Linked DNA regions of Homo sapiens: region 1 is linked to region 2. Evidence: promoter capture Hi-C in human tissues and cell types (Jung and others, 2019). All regions are on one chromosome and are shown on one strand. The core of a region is centred on a gene start or on the middle of the fragment in contact, and the rest is flanking DNA. Distances in the headings are between cores, read along the strand shown.

What was found. Contacts are between HindIII fragments. The study calls those that stand out against the background at their distance.
Region 1: a fragment that was not itself captured here is called in contact with the fragment with the promoter of BTLA in region 2 in 1 of the 25 tissues and cell types used here (H1 embryonic stem cells).

What each region holds. Positions count from the first base shown.
Region 1 is chr3:112,440,296-112,444,241 of GRCh38, forward strand. No RefSeq gene overlaps it. Among named protein-coding and RNA genes, the nearest start is that of BTLA, 57 kb to the right of the region's middle. The HindIII fragment of the contact is 7,891 bases long and covers 1-3,946 here.
Region 2 is chr3:112,497,008-112,500,775 of GRCh38, forward strand. BTLA (B and T lymphocyte associated) reads right to left here and starts at 2,465. Exons shown (of 5, transcript NM_181780.4): 1 at 2,264-2,465. The coding sequence starts at 2,351. RefSeq lists enhancers at 929-1,048, 1,917-1,966, 2,057-2,186. The HindIII fragment of the contact is 5,711 bases long and covers 1-3,768 here.

The DNA.
Region 1 (3,946 bases), core at 1,007-3,506, 57 kb before region 2:
ACCAATAAACCTAATGAACATAGATTTTTAAAAATGCTCAACAAAATACTAACAAATTGAATCCAGCAGCATATCAAAAAGCTTATTCATCACTATCAAGTAGGCTTTATTCCTGGGATGCAAGGTTGGTTTAACATATGCAAATCAATGAATGTGATTGACCACATAAACAGAATTAAAAGGAAAAAAGCATATGATTATCTCAATAGATGCAGAGAAAGCTTTCGGTAATTCAAACTTCCCTTCATATAAAAACTCTCAACAGACTAGGCATCAAAGGAACGTACCTCAAATTAATAAGAACCATCTATGAAAAACCCACAGCCAACACCATGCTGAACAGGAAAAGCTGGAAGCATTCCACTTGAAAACTGGAGCAAGACAAGGATGCCCTCCTATTCAACAAGTACTGGAAGTCCTAGCCAGAGCAATCAAGAAAGAACAAGAAATAAAAGACATCCAAATAGGAAAATAACAAGTCAATCTATCTCTCTTCACTAATAACATTATTCTATACTTAGGAAACCCTAAAGACTCTGCCAAAAATTTCCTAGAACTGAAAATTTAGCAAGGTTTCAGGATACAAAATCAATGTACAAAAAATCAGTAGCATTTCTATACACCAATAATATTCAGGCTGAGAGCCAAATTGAGAATGCAATCTCATTCACAAAAGCCACAAAGGAAACGAAATACCAAGGAATATAGTTAATCAAGGAGTTGAAAGATTTTTTACAAGGAGAACTATAAAACACTGCTGAAAGAAATTAGAGATGAAAAAAACACATGGGGAAAGTTTCCATGCTCTTAGATTGGAAGAATCAATATTATTAAAATGGCCATTCTGCCCAAAGCCATTTACAGATTCAATGCTATTTCTATCAAATAACCAGTGTCATTCTTCACAGAATTAGAAAAACCTATTATAAAATTCATAGGAAACCAATAAAGAGCCTGAATAGCCAAAGAAATCTTAAGCAAAAAGGGCAAAGCTGAAAGCATCACAACATCAAATTATACTACAAAAGTACAGCAACCAAAAACACCATGGTAGTGGTACAAAAACCGACACGTAGACCAGTGGAACAGAATAGAAAACTCGGAAATAAAGCTGCACACCTACAACAGTCTGATCTTCAACAAGGTAGACAAAAACAAGCAATGGGGAAAGGATTCCCTATTCAATAAATGGTGTTAACTGGCTAGCTATATGCAGAAGAATAATACTGGACCCTTACCTTTCACCATATACAAAATTAACTCAAGATGCATTAAGTGTTGAAATATAAAACCTTAATCTATAAAAATCCTAGAAAAAAATACTAGGAAATACTCTTCTCAATATCAGCCTGGGCAAATAATTTTTGACTAAGTCCTCGAAAGCATTTGCAACAAAACCAAAAATTGACAAGTGGAACCTAATTAAAGAGTTTCTGCAGAGCAAAAGAAGCTATCAACAGAGTAAACAGACAACCTACAAAGTGGGAGAAAATATTCATAAAGTATGCATCTGATAAAGGTCTAATATCCAGAATTTCTAAGGAGCTTAAACAAATCAACAAGCAAAAATAAGCCTCATTAAAAAATTGGCAAAGGACATGAAGAGACACTCCTCAAAGGAAGACATACAAGTGGCCAACAAACATGAAAAACTGTCATCAGCACCAATCATTAGAGAAGTGAAAATTAAAACCATGAGATACCATCTCACACCAGTCAGAATGGCTTTATTAAAGTCAAAAAACAACAGATGTTGGTGGGGCTGCAGAGAAAAGGGAATGCTTATAGACTATTGGTGGGAATGTAAATTAGTTCAGACACTGTGGAAAGCAATTTGGAGATTTCTCAAAGAAGTTAAAACAGAGCTACCATTATACCCAGCAATCCCATTACTGGGTATATACCCAAAGGAAAATGTATCATTATACCAAAAAGACAGAGGTACTTATATGTTCGTCATCATGCTATTCACAATAGCAAATACCTGCAGTCAACCTAGGTCCCCATCAATGGTGGACTGGATAAAGAAAACGTGGTTCATATACACCACAGAACACAGCCATAAAAAAGAATGAAATCATGTACTTTGCGGCAACATAGATAGAGTTGGAGGTCATAATTCAAAGCAAATTAATGCAGGAGCAGAAAACCAAAGACTGCATGTTCATAAGTGGGAGCTAAACATTGAGTATACATGGGATATGAACATGGGAACAATAGACACGATGGACTACTAGAGGGCAGAGAGAGGGAGGGGGGCATGTGTTAAAAAACTACATGTGGGGTACTATCCTTCCTATATTTTAGATATAGTTGGTACATATGCAGGCTTGTTACATGGGTGCAGTATACCCACGTAATATACATTTTTAAATGCATCAATTTTCTTGTTTTGTTTAATTGGAGGATGTAGCTACTAATTAGACATTTTTAGAAAAAATATACATTTAATTACATAGGCCAAAAAGTTAATTTTATAGGACAGAATGAGAATACAAAACATGTATATAAGTTGAGGGGAATAGAAAAAAGGCAAAAAAAAGGGAAAAAACAAAACATGCTAAATATGAAGTATGAGATAAGAAATAAGTTCAGTGAAATAAACATTAAAAATGAATGAGTTATATAGCTTCAAGACAGAAACTCATTTTTTAAAGACCCAGGTATGTACTAGTTCATATTTATGGTGAAAAAAATAAAAACTACAGTTGTCTCTGGGGATATGGAATATTGGCTGGGAGGGGACATAAGGAAATTTATGGAGTGAGAGTAGTGGTTCATATCTCAATATGAGATTCATTTACCCAGGTATATGCATTTTTCTACTCAACAAATGCACCTTTTATTGCATGCAATTTTATATTTAAAAGCTCTAAAAAGTGTTACATTTAGTTAATGTTGACAACGTGAAACTATTTAACTGGAAGAATATTTTTGATGGATAAATTGATATTTACAAATTACCTTGAAATATATCAGTAAAATAAATTGACTGTTGGATGGATAGATATGTGATAATGCAAGTATAGTTTAAGGTTAATGACAATATATGTTGTAAGCAGCAATATTCAGATAGCCAAAAAGTAGAAACAATTCAAATGTCCATCTACTAATGAATGAACAAAATATGGTAGATCCATACAATAGAATATTATTCATTCATTAAGAGGAAAGAAGACTGATATGTGCTACAGCACAGATAAACCTTGAAAACGTTATGTTAAGTGAAAGAAGCTAGACTAAAAGGTCATATCTTGTATGATTTCATTTATATGAAATGTCCAGAATAGGCTAATCTGTAGAGACATAAAGCAGATTGTACTCAAAGCAAATTATTGGCTGAGGCTTTTAGAATCGCCAATAGAGATGTTTTTAATAGTATTGAGGTCTGGGATAGATAGATAACCCTCTTCTTTTCCCTTTTAAGTTGGGCAGTTAGAATTAGACTCATAGCTCGACTGATAAAAATCAAAAGGTCAGCCGGGCGCGGTGGCTCACGCCTGTAATCCCAGCACTTTGGGAGGCGGAGGCGGGCAGATCACGAGGCCAGGAGATAGCGACCATCCTGGCTAACACCGTGAAACCCTGTCTCTACTAAAAATACAAAAAATTAGCCGGGCGTGGTGGCGGGCACCTGTAGTCCCAGCTACTTGGGAGGCTGAGGCAGGAGAATGGCCTGAACCCGGGAGGCGGAGCTGGCAGTGAGCCGAGATCGCGCCACTGCACTCCAGCCTGGGCGACAGAGCGAGACTCTGTCTCAAAAAAAAAAAAAAAAAAAAAAAAATCAAAAGGTTAATTTATTACAATCAAAAGCTAGATTGGAGCATGTAGCTTAAATACAGAGCCACAATGAATTTTCTAATACTTTATGTAGAATTAAACTGAGATCCTCCTATATTGTCTCACAGACATGTGCACACAGAGAGAGAGAAGGGGGCAAGGTCTG
Region 2 (3,768 bases), core at 1,215-3,714:
TAGGGCCATGGCTCCCAGCCATATTTCATTTTCTGAATAATTTGATTCACTATATTTTGGGCTAAATATATTGCAAAATATATTGTACTTATTTATTTTATTTTTAACTTTAAAAACTCAACTATTTTAAATAATAATGTTAAAACATAATTCTCATTTAATTACATAGAGGTTGCATGGTGAAAATAATTTAGGAAAAATACCACTAACATTTACTGAGCTTTAAATACGTGCACTTACTATGCGAGGCACTTTACCCATATTATTGCATCTACAGTCTTCACAGCAGCCCCATAATTTAGGTACAATTATTACCTGTATTGTACAAATGAGGAAACTAAAGAGAAGAGAAGAGACTTAATCAATGCCATACAGTAAGTGGCAGAGCCAGTAAATTAACCCAGTTCTAACAGCCAAGTTCACTTTTGCAAATGCTAGGTTGCACATTGGGAGAAATAAAGGTCTTACCCCACCATCAATGTGGTTTAGCACTGAAACTCATTGTTCTTAATTTCATAGAGAGTAGTTTATGTATCCTTCAAATGGGGAAGAAATCTATTTAATAATATTTGACTCCAGTTGTAGCTATGTGACTGTAGGCATCTGATGGAAGGTGGAAAATTCAGTCAACCATCTAAGCACCTAGTTGACTTAATACTAGATACTTACAAACATAAAGATGTTTGAGTAACTAAGGACTTTTTTACTTTGCACTTGGTTGTGTGGCATCCTGGCATCATAGAGACATATTCCAAACTACACAGTTTAAAATTATAGATAGACTTTCCATAGAACCTCAGTGGCCAGATTTTCTAATTTAAAATTGCAGTAGCCAAACTGATAAATGTGTGCTTGTAGGGAATAATAAGACAGAATATTTAAAACCTGAAAAATCACTGGGCATGGTGGCTCATACCTGTAATCCTAGCACTTTGGGAGGCTGAGGCAGGTGGATCACTTGAGGTCAGGAGCTCCAGACCAGCCTGCCCAACATGCATTGCATCCATAGCTTGGCTGACTTTCTTAAAAAACAGGTTGATGGCAAGAAAAGAGAACTGAGTAGATGTTATAAATAGTTAAGTACAAATCTATCACTACTTCTTGCGAAAATGCTCAGGCTGCCACACTGATGATGAATAGATAGCTCGTTCTTCCCAAACTGAGTGCAGTAGAGTGTTGCAGTGCTCAGTTGGGTAGGACAGATGTTGGATAATTGGGGTTATCCAACATCTCTACTAAAAATACAAAAATTAGCTGTGCGTGGTGGAAGGTGCCTGTAATCCCAGCTACTAGGGACGCTGAGGCAGGAGAATAAATTGAACCCGGGAGGAAGAAGAATCGATTGAACCCGGGAGGCAGAGGATGCAGTGAGGCGGGATCACGCCATTGCACTCCAGCCTGGGTGACGAGAGCAAAACTCTTGTCTCAAAAAAATAAAAAAATAAAACCTGAAAAATCAGAAGCTTCTGATGAGCCACTCATAGGCTTTTCCTCTTGATAATATGTGGGTTCCTATGCAATATAAGGTAGGAAGCGACTTTACAATAAAAAAGAAATTGCCTTTTTTTTTTTTTTTTTTTTTTTGCCTGTATAAAGTCTTTGCAGGGGTGGCTAAATATCATCTTTGCAGAATCCAACTTATTTTCTGTGTTCAATTGACAACCAAGTAGGAACCATTCCCTTTCAACAAAATAGAAGCAATGACGAAAAGTTCTGCTCCTATATTTTGTAGCATTTTCTCAATCGGTATTCTCAAGGCATACATCCCAATGAAGCAAGTATAGAGATTTTATTTAGAGGTAATATTATTTGAGGGTAACCATGGAGATATGTATAATTCCGATTATCCAACAACTGTCCTACCCAACTGAGCACTGCAGCACTCTACTGCACTCAGTTTGGAAAGAACGAGCTATCTATTCATTATCAGTATGGCAGCCAGAGCATTTTTGCAAGAAGTAGTGATAGATTTGTACTTAACTATTTATAACATCTACTCAGTTCTCTTTTCCTACCATCAACATGTTTTTAAGAAAGTCAGCCAAGCTATTGATGCGATGCCTATGATTAGGCAGGTGAATACTATGTTCTAATTTGGTTTATGCTCTACGATGTCTTCGGTAAGCAAATGTAACAGCTTGGTTTCATCTACGATTACCCACTTCGTATAAACGTTACACCGTACTAAGTTCAGCAAGGGAGAATGTTGCCTCCAAGACCCCCTGAGAAATAAAACCAGAAATAACCTAAGCAGGTGCCTTACCATGGATGTTCCAGATGTCCAGATATGGGATTAAGAAGAAGACCCAAAATAATTTCCCAGTTCCAAGCATGGCAGGCAATGTCTTCATTTCCTGCACATATCAGTGATGGAAAAACTGCTCAAGTAGAAGGCTTTGCTTCGTCTTCTGAGTGCTGCAGAGTTGGGTCAGTTTACCTACCCCAGTGGCATCTGTGAAATAACTAAAAAAAAAAAAAAAAGAAGAGAGAGGTGGTAAGAGAGGAGAGTAGGAAGAGCCTGGATGATTTTGTGAAAAAAAGTGAACAGAAAGACGATGTGGTACTCTGTTCTGTGGTTTTTGCTTCTTGTCAGGTTGGCTGTTCACTTTCAAACACTGTGATCTGCAAAGCAGCTCAGTCCTTAACTTCTCCTTCCGCTCTACCACGTTTTTGCCCCAGGTTGAGGTTTTTCCTGCACTCAATGTTCAGTGAAATGAGCAATTAAACTTTAAAGAAATCTGTATTGTTGCAGTCTTTAAGTTGAGATTTTAATCAAATTAAGGTCAGGAAATTTATGGTAAAACTATCAATGGTAAGTATACATTTTCCCCTTTGTGATAGCTTGTGATTATGAAACTTCTTTTATGTAAAAGATTTTAGGTTTCTTTTTTTTCCTGTACATGTCACGGTAAGATGAGGATGCTTATTGTCATTAAACCAGTGAAGATTTATCTCAGGTTATGGAGAAAATGAGTGACAGGAAGCACTTCCTCAACAGAAGAAGGAAGAGCAGCCGTCTTTAATCTGTGGATACATATCAATGGAACAAGATCATCATTAATATTGGCTACATGTTCTCTCTAGATAATAAAGTTCTAATCTAAAGGAGATCTTGAATATCAATTAAAGGAAATTTCCATTTTAAACATTCTTCATGCAGTTGTTGTCTCGATGAAGTAGAATAGAAACAGTAAAGGAAGAAATGGAAAAGTTCAAGATCAGATAGCACAGGCCACCATAGGACTGTTTTCTCCACATCCACTTGTAATAATTAGCTTAGCTTATAGTCATAGGAGCTAATCAAATTCATCTGCCATTTGAGACTCCAAATGAGAGATCTAGATTTGTGGCATTAGTGATCATTGACAGAAGTCGATTATATAAGTTTTTTCCTCAGAGACTGATGATTTTATTCCAAGGCCAAACTTCAATAGTTTTAAGTTCAAGGAAAGTTTTAAGAGCAAGGAAAGTGTATAGATTGCTGGACATTTTGACCTGACATGGGAAACTGATGGGCAATACTTAATTCAGAGCTCCCAGTTGAGTTGCCAAGGGTAAATTAAAATTAAAAAACAGTTATCATGTATTTATTGAGTCAAATAGACAATGTGCTATGGTTGGAGATGAATGATGAATGAGTTGCTATTGCTGATTTTAAAGAACTCGTTCAATCAGTATTACGACTTCCTCACATCCACCTTTAGTGTTGGTCTTATAATATAGTATAATACAGAGAGGGTACACATAGCCTTTTAGAATTTCTGTTAC